2 separate regions of the Homo sapiens genome follow, and region 2 is linked to region 1. The links are contacts of gene promoters, found by promoter capture Hi-C in blood cells and fetal thymus (Javierre and others, 2016). All regions are on one chromosome and are shown on one strand. The core of a region is centred on a gene start or on the middle of the fragment in contact, and the rest is flanking DNA. Distances in the headings are between cores, read along the strand shown.

Evidence for each region. Contacts are between HindIII fragments. The CHiCAGO score rates a contact against its expected background, and 5 or more counts as called.
Region 2: a contact is called between the fragment with the promoter of VCP here and the fragment with the promoter of TPM2 in region 1, in 1 of 17 cell types (monocytes). The highest score is 5.0, in monocytes.

Annotation. Positions count from the first base shown.
Region 1 is chr9:35,687,653-35,692,079 of GRCh38, forward strand. TPM2 (tropomyosin 2) reads right to left here and starts at 2,273. Exons shown (of 9, transcript NM_003289.4): 1 at 2,052-2,273; 2 at 1,494-1,619. The coding sequence starts at 2,165. RefSeq lists an enhancer at 238-715 and a silencer at 3,611-3,690. The HindIII fragment of the contact is 4,032 bases long and covers 335-4,366 here.
Region 2 is chr9:35,069,577-35,074,104 of GRCh38, forward strand. It overlaps VCP (valosin containing protein), which reads right to left and starts at 3,049. Exons shown (of 17, transcript NM_007126.5): 1 at 2,761-3,049. The coding sequence starts at 2,777. FANCG (FA complementation group G) reads right to left here. Exons shown (of 14, transcript NM_004629.2): 14 at 4,263-4,528. RefSeq lists a silencer at 2,127-2,756 and enhancers at 3,157-3,206, 3,407-3,546, 3,567-3,616. The HindIII fragment of the contact is 17,727 bases long and covers 1-4,528 here.

The DNA.
Region 1 (4,427 bases), core at 1,023-3,522:
CAGTGTGGAAGCATTCTGGGGACAGCATTGGGGGTTGGGAAGAATCACTGTGGGGGACATTGGAGTACTACCCTAGAGAGAGGTGAGACTGTAAAAGAAAAACTCTGCATGATGGTGGGGTGACAAAAGACTCTGGAAAGTTTGGGAAGTCCTGGGGTCCTCATCATGGGACTGATATGTGCCATTTCCTGCCTCTCAAGCTCTTCCCAGTTACGGGGGCGGCTCTCTAACCACAGGACAGGCACTACTGTCCCCATTAGAAAAATGGGAAGCAAGAGAGAGGGAGAAACTGAGGCACCATGTAAGTTGAGTGCTGTGTTCAAGGTCACCAGGAAGCTTGGGCAGTCTTTCCTATCTGCTCCTGGTGCTGCGGCTCTGCCTCCCCAGCTCTGTCCCTGTCCCCCCTGCCCCTCCAGCCCCCACCAGCAACTTGGGTTTCCAATCTTGCCTCCAGCTGCACTGGGCCTTGGTTATTTATAGAGTGTCAGATGCCCAGGGTTGTCTGTGCTAGCAGCTGCAGGTCAGCTCCCTCCCAAGTGCCAGGACTGGTGGAGAACCAAAACTGGAGGCTGGAGGTCACAGAAGCCCAACCCCTGGGGGGCTGGGAACATGAGCAGTCGACACAAACAGCTATGTCATCTCTGATGTTCAGACCATGCTTTATGCTAATCTAACCATAGGTTCATCTTAAAACAATCCTGGGTGGAAGGAAGATGGGGAAACTGAGGCAGAGAATGGGGAAACTACCACCACACCAAAGCCATATGGCCATTCTCCTACCTTAAGCTGGGGGTTGGGAATGGCAGGAAGTGAAGTCTGGTTGGGGTTGTGGGGTGGGCAGAGAAATCTCAGGGTAAATGACCTGCCAAGGTAGCTGCTTTGGCATTTGTGGCCCTGTCCCTCTGCCCTGTGGCCTGGCATGGTCTCCAGGCTGACAGCTTAATGAGGGTAAATGAGGAGCCATTAGAACCTGAGCTGGGGCCCCAGGGCACAGCAGGGCTGCTGAAGCCAGAGGTCAAGGCCAGGGAATTTCTAATGGCCCCTTAGGGTTGTAACTCAAGTGGGGTCTCATCTCTGGATCCCTCTCCCTCCTCCTGCAGGCTAGTACCTCACATCCACATCCCCCCATCCCCAAACGGCTGCAGTCTCCTCTCCAATTTCAGCTGGAGGATTAATTGAGGTAGATGGTAAATTCTTATACCTTCCACCCCCACAATGACTCATTGCTTGATCACTGTACATTCTAAAAGCTGGAACCAAACAGAATTACAGGGCTAAGTCCTCTGGGGGAAGTGGTAGGTGGTTTTGATTTATCCACTGTCTTGGATTACTTGTGTAAGTTTACCCTAGCCCTGGTTACTGAGATGAAACCATTTCTCTCCTGGCGCTGGGGACATAAGGGGATAAGGTGCCCCAATCCTCTTATTCCCATACCCGGGGGGCCCCTTCCCAGAGCCCTAACTCCTCCCATTGTCCCCCAAGTCCACACTCACATCAGTGGCCTTCTTCTCGGCCTGCTCCAGTTTCTCCTGGGCCTCCTTCACGGATTCAGAATACTTTTCCACCTCATCCTCTGTCCCCTTCAGCTTCTTCTGGAGGGCCTGCTGCTCCTCCTCCAGCTGGGACAGAGGGGACTTGGTCAGCCAGGCTGGGAGGGGGCCCAGGCCCAGAATGGAGACGCGGTGTGTGTAGGGGCGCTACTAAGATTTGGAGGCTACTGGGATGGAAGCGGAATAACATAAAAGGGACAGTACAGTCAAGGGTACTGGTGGGACCCGTTGAGGGTACAGAGAAAACTTCAGGCCCCAAGGAGCAGGACCAACCGCGCTCTGCAAAGGCAGAGTGGAAACCAGGGGCCTGGGGCTTCCCCAGGCTATTGTAGGGGAGAGAAGCGGCTCTGGCGAAGGCCCTGAGGGTACTGCGAAGGCCCAGCCCCCACCCTGGGTGAGAGAGAGCCTTGGCGGGCAGGCCCGGGGCTGGGGGACCCATGGCAGCGGCCCACCCTTGCCCTAGGCGCGGGGAGAGCAGGCTGCACTGGGCCCGGCCCTAACCTGCTTGCAGCGGTCCTCAGCTTGCTTCTTGTCGGCTTCGGCCTGCTCGGCGCGGTCGATGGCGTTCTCCTTGTCCAGCTTCAGCATCTGCATCTTCTTCTTGATGGCGTCCATGGCTGCGGTGGGGGGTGGGCCGGCCGGCAGGCGGTGAGGACCGGACGGACTGGGCTGGGTGAGCGGACTGGGTGCACCGGTGGCAGGCGAGGAGGACGGAGCGGGACTGGGACGTCCCGGCCACGCGGGCGCCTAAAAGGCGGGGAGGGACCGGGCGGGGCCGGCAACCAGGACCCTCCCCCACCTCGGCCCAAACCTTGTAGGGGCAGAAGCACGGCCCGGCCGGGGGGTGCGGCCGCCCCCTTCGCCCACCCACTGGGGACCGCCTCCCTTGGGGTCCCGCCCCCATCCCCCTCTTCCCTGCCAGCCGTCGGAGGAAAAAGTGGCCGACGGTCGGCTGGAAAAACCCCGGCGATGCGAAGGGGAGGGGACCCTTGGGCTGGGGGCTCCGTGCTTCCTCTGAGTGACAGCCGGACCCAGTGGCAGCTGCGGCTGGGGCCCCTGGGGCTATTTCGGGGCGTGAGCTCACGGCAGCTGCCCGGGCGCAGGGACCGGCGTGCCCCCCCTCAGCTGCAGCAGCCGCTACCCTTAATTTAGAAGTTTCCTGCAAATCCCCCCGGATTAAATGTCTCTCGGGAGGCGGAGCTCCTCGGCAGTTTGAGTGCCTCAGTTTACCCTGAGTCCCTCTAGGTTTGCGTTATCGACGTGGTGGTAGTAGCGGAGTCTCATCGGGAGCTTGGGGAAACTGAAGCAGGAAGCGAGCCCAGAGCCCCGGTCGCGGTGGGGAGTGTGGCCGGGCTTGCTGCCCCCAGGACCGGCCTGACCTCTCATCCCCTCGCCTCCCCTCCCAGCCCCTGCCCCTGGAGCCAGGCCCTTCCTGCGAGCACCCGGCGGCTCAGGACCCAGCTCCCCGCCCCGCCCCCCACGTGCCCCGCATATTTTCCACGCGGCTGCGGCCAGGCTGGTCACCGCGCGTTCCCCGCCCCCGCTCCCACCCGGACGCGTCCCGAGCCCCTCCGCTCCCCGCCCCTGGCTCCGCCTGGCCCCACTCCCCTCCGCGCGCCTTCCCTCTTCTCCCCCGCTCCCCGCGGACGCTCCTCTCTTTCCCAGTGGGCCAACTTTATGCTGAAATTTCTTTTCTGCCCTTTTTTGGGATGTTTCCCCATTGGGAGGCGGAGCCGGGCTGCGGCGGGGAAGGCGGAGGGCGAGGGGAAGAGTCACTGAGCTGCGGGGCATAGGGGGTCCGGGGCGAGGTGCCTTCTCCCACCCAGGCCGCCAAACCAGCGCCGGAGCCGGGTCGTGGGGTCTGGGAGTCGGAGGCGCGAGGCGCGAGGGTGTTTGTTTTCGTTTTTCCCTGGGGTGGGGTGGGGGGAAAGGAAGTGGAGAGCCGCCGGGAGGAGGGGGAAGGGGAGGAGAGAACAAGCGGAGGAAGCCGGGAGGGAGCTGCTAGCCTCGCCCCCACCCTCCAGTCATAGAGGGGCGGGAGGCCTGGATTTTGCAGTGGGCTGGGGACCGTGGGAACCCGAGGCCGCTGGCCGGGGCGGTGGGGAGGTGGCGTGGAAATGCATTCAGATCTGTTTAGCTGCCTGCTAGCCACACGGAGAGCAACCCTGGCCTGACCTCGCAGTGTTCCTCTAACTCCGTGGAAGACGCCTCATCCACCAGTAGCCTATGCTAGACCACTGGGTATCCCCTGCCCTTCGCGTCTCACAACCACCTAATCCTGGAGAGGCTGCCTTCTACCAAGGAGGTTCCTCCTCGGGTCGGTCTGGGCTGGCCTCTGGCCGCGCCTTATGTTTTCTTCAGTCTGTTTTGTAGTCTTACTTCTAGTTCCTCAACTCATTCATTCATTTGACTGTCCCATGACATTGTTGTCAAATATCTTTTTAAAAGTTAATGCGAATATTATCTAAAATTCTCCAAAACCCCTCCCTAATCCCTGTCCCCCCACCTTTTTTGAGACGGGAGCTTGCTAGATTGCCCAGGCTGGTCTTGAACTTATGGGCTTAAGTGATCCTCCCGACTCAGCCTCCTGAGTAGCTGGGATTACAGGCGTGCGGGCACCCTGCCTGTTTTGAGGAGAAAAAAAAAATCCACATTTCTTAATATGGTATAGAAGGCCCGTTGTTTTGGCTGTTGCCTGCCTCTCTGGCCTCATCTCCTTCCATGCCCAACCTCACCCCCAGTATTCATACTTGTACCTCATGCTGCATTCATAATGAGCTACGTGCAGGAGCTGGAAATAGCCATACTTTTCTTAAAGCTTCCACAGTTTATGCATTCTGTTCTCTCTCCCTAAAATGCCCATCCCCTTGGCTGATT
Region 2 (4,528 bases), core at 1,799-4,298, 620 kb before region 1:
CGAGTAGCTGGGATTACAGGCATGCGCCACCACACCTGGCTAATTTTGCATTTTTACTAGAGATGGGGTTTCACCATGGTGGTCAGGCTGGTCTCGAACTCCTGACCTCAGGTGATCTGCCCACCTCGGCCTCCCAAAGTACTGGGATTACAGGCGTGAGCCACAGCACCCAGCGCTCTCTCTTTTTTAAGAGCGGCCTCGTGTTAGTAAGGCTCAGGAAAACATAAGCATTAACCAAAGTAGGAAGGCCAGACAATGAAGGAAGCAAAGAAAATAAATTTTTAAAACGAATTTCTTCATTCAACAAATTCATGAGTCTCTATTATGTACCAGGCATTGTTCTAAGGGCTGGGGATACTGAAGTCAACAAAACAAGACAAAATAGTATTCCCATTGGAAATATCCTCACAATTTGCAAGAGACAAAGAAAAATGCTGTGCTCAGCTAGGAAGCCATGGGGTTCTTACATCTTTGGGTCCTGATACACCCAAGAGAAAAACAAACCCCATTCATCTAACAAAATGGTAGGCCTTCTGCTAACCCTCACACATAGGCTGCATTTTTAACCACTGCCTCTAAACTAGTTTCTAACGACAGTTTCCTCTGCTCAAATTTGCTTCCCCCATTCCAAAAGTCTGCCACTCCAGGCACAATGCTGCTGAGTAGGCAGACTCTTCCAATGCTTATCAACACACTAGAGGCCAAGCATGCTCAATGTGACAGTTGAGAGCAATGTAAACCCACGAGCTCTCCCACTCCTGTCCCATCAAAATACTCTTCCAGGGACTGCCCATCTTCTTGCTTGACTTATAGAACTGGGACTGGAGAAAAATAAAACGCCAGATGCCTCTAGTCACCATAGTTTTTTATTTTTTGAAACGGAGTCTCCCTCTGTTGCCCAGGCTGGAGTGCAGTGGCGCGATCTCCCTCACTGCAATCTCTGCCTCCCTGGGTTCAAGTGATTCTCCTGTCTCAGCCTCCAGAGTGGCTGGGACTACAGGTGTGCACCATCACCATGCCTGGCTACTTTTTGCATTTTAATAGAGATGGGGTTTCTCCATGTTGCCCGGGCTGGTCTCAAACTCCTGACCTCAAGTGATCTGCCTGCCTCGGCCTCCCAAAATGCTGGGATTACAGGCCTGAGCCACTGTGCCCGGTCAATAGTTTGTATTTTAATCTCAAAGCTGTATCCTAGGAAAACCTCCATTCTGCCTACCATCCCGGACTCTGGCTCTGGAGATGAGTGGTATGCCCTTTTCTTAAGGTAAAGCCTCTAATTCCCCATCTACCTACTGAGATCAGATGTGGTAATCTCTAAAAGACTGAATTTGGCCTGACCATGGGCCAACAGCAGTTCTGGACACTCTTTGGGGCAATCCTCCATTGTCTTCTGTATAAGTCAATCCCTTTCCAGAACTGCACAGGGGACTCCACGGGACTTGGAAGGGTTTCAGCTAAGAGTCATCAAGGTGACCAAGAGGTTAGAAACAGCTGATGATGCCAGGTTCCAAGAATTTTAGATTTTTACTTTTGAAAATAAGAGGCTGACTGCATATAAACCAAAAGAATACTTTCAGAATAAGTGACTCTTTTAAATAAGCAACTGAGTAATACTTTATCCGAATTCAGAAACTTGAGAAAAAGGAACACACCTCAAAAAACTAATCTCTTCAAGGAAGGAAGGTAATTTGCATAGAGTTTCCTTGGGCTGGCTGTGTTTTTTTTTTTTTTTTTTTTTTTTTTTTTGCCTCTAAAAGCTCTCTATTCTAAATTGAATGGGCTGAGGTAGCCAAGTTTTATCTAACGCTTTCCTAAGGATGGAGGTGGGGTCAGAAAGCCCCAGAGCCCGGGTAATTTCTCAATATAGCTGGTTGGGGAAAGGAGTGCGCGCACGTTTGTGTTTTTGAAGAGTTAGTGCAACTCTAAACTGCACACCACGAAACCTGGAAATCTGGAAAGGCGCACAAAACACGAACTGAGATTCCAACTTTAGCAAGAACCTAAAATGTTAAAGAAAAATTCCTTTCTCCCCACCCACGAGTCATAACATTAAGGAAAACTGGCTCAAACTTTCTAGTATGAACAACAGGCCTAAAGTAAGAAGACCAGAAGCGAAAGGTAGGGCTCGCCCTCTCCCTAACAGTCCTTCACGACTCAGGTCACACACAGAGGATGCCCACCTCCGGCCCCGCCGACCCGGCTCCAAAAAGGCGGCTGTGAGCTTCCCTGAGCTCGGCGGGCCTTCCCCGACCCCGGGCTCCGCCTCGGTGGCAGAGCTCCTGAGGCCTTCACATGGCGCAAAGTCCACGCCCACCGGGCCCGGCTGGGGCCTCGGGCTCGCGGGGCCTGCTCTCTCCGGGGACCAAAGGCTTTCGGCGGGTGGTAGGCCGGACGGCAGACTGGCGCCCCAAAGCCCCGGGGCGCCGCGCCGGCGGAGTGGGCCGGAAGACCTGGCCAGGCCCAGACGTCCGTTCTAAGGGAGCCAATCGGGCGGGCCGGGGCCTGCATGACACAGCACGATCCGGCCCAGGCTCCGACCCGGACCCAACGCAAGCCCCGCCTAGGGGGCGCGCGGGTGCGCAGCTGGCCCCAGCCGGGCCTGCCGGGTCCACGGCCCCTCACTCGCCCCCTAGCTTCCCTTCCCTCTTTCCTGGTCTCCACCTCTCTGACGCGCCCACGGCCAGGCCCCGCCGGGCCTACCCTGCGCGGCTGGTCCCGGTGCGCGCCGCCGCAGCAAGCGAACGGCGCGCGCACACTCACTCGGCTCCAGAAGCCATGGCGCGCGCCTCTCCCGGCCGGCGGCTGTGGCGGCCCGCGGGTAACGGCTACGAGCGGTGGCAAGCGACCGACTGGGCCGGGGCTCGGCTCTTCCAGGCGGTGGGCGAGCAGCGGCGACAAACCCGCAAGCGGCTTCCCTCTCGCTTCCTCCCACCGGCAGCGAGGCGTCGGGCGAACAACGCTGGCTCCTGATCCGCGAGGTGGCAGTGGCAGTGGCAGCGGCAGCGGCAGCGACGACTCAAACGACGGTCGCAGACGCTTCGCTGAGACTGAGCCGAGAAGAGCCGAATCATCGGAAGGGAAGCTGCTCCCACCTCAGCCAATCAGCGCCTGCCCTGCGGACTCTCGCCCGCCTCTCCGCGCCTCTCCCCAGCAACCCGCAGATCACAGCCAATCAGGAAATTCGCTTGCGGCCTGGCTCCCGCCTCAGTGATGCGACACGCCTAGTAACGCCACGTCAATTGGCCGCAACGCTACGCTTCCTCGACGGATTGGAATTCTCAGCCAATCAACGAAAGGAATAGGGCGAGATCGATTAGTGAAAGGAGACCCTTTAATCCCTTAGAGGCGGACTCTCCCACTTGGCTCCAGTTCATTGGCTCCGGAGTTTATCCTCCTGGAAGAACGTGGCACAATAGACTGAACCCTTGTATTAGTCTAGTCCTATTGTGGTAACCCATACACCCATCTTCTCCCAAAACCTGGAGATCTTCTAAGACGCCATCACCACCCTGACACTTCTTGCTCCTTCTCAACGCTGCCTCCAACCACCCCTACTCTGAACTTTCTGACTAGCACCCCACTCCTACCCCATTGTCACTGCACCCTCTGGTAACCCCAATCCCACAGCCTTTGCAGTTTCTCAGCGCTTGTGCCTTTCTTCCTCCCGTCATTAATATTAATACCTTATAATAAGGCACTCAAATCCAGAGAAGTCAAAGGGCAACCACAGAACACACAGCCAATTCAGTAGAACCCAAATTAGCAAGAAAACTGCATATGCTGGGACTTGAAAATCCTTGGGCCCCAAATAACAGGGGTCCCTGTTAGTAGTCAACAGGCAGCTGTTGGTGATATGCTGACTCAATTCACCTTTCACCCTGTACCCACACAGACACATTTGACTAAGACGAGTCGAATTTCTAGAATTTGGAATTAGGAAGGGAGTGAAGAGTTACTCTGAGAGAAACCTGCCTGTCTCTAAGTAACAGGTACCTGCCCTTGTCCTGAGAGGCCTATCTAGACCACCCTTCAGACCCAACTCCACTCATTGTCACTGTCCTGGGCTTTGGGGCTCTGCATTCAGGCAATGTGAAGGACTAAAGCCACTGCCTCCAAAGTGAGGATTCCTGTAGCCCTTTCCTCATACCCAGACTTCAAGTTCATAAGGTAGACGATGTCAGGAAAGGGCATCATAGACAACTAGCACTCAACTAGACGGTCACAAGCCTTCCCACGCAAGTATATGTAGTAGGCAGACGAGATAAATATGAAATTTTACTCGACAACAGAAAAGGAGAAACAGGAAAAAAGGTGCCTCGAGCAAAGTCAATGACTTGGTGGTGGCAGAGATTGTTTCCTCCAAAACGAGAATGGTAGTAACTAGGGCAAATTTCACAGGCCTACCACCAATCTCACCAGTCCAGGAATTATATAGGAATGGTCACATTCCTAATGATGGTGAAGCAGAAAGCCCTCCCCACAGAGAGACAGCCCACTGGGGACCCAGCTCAAGCTCTTCAAAACGTGG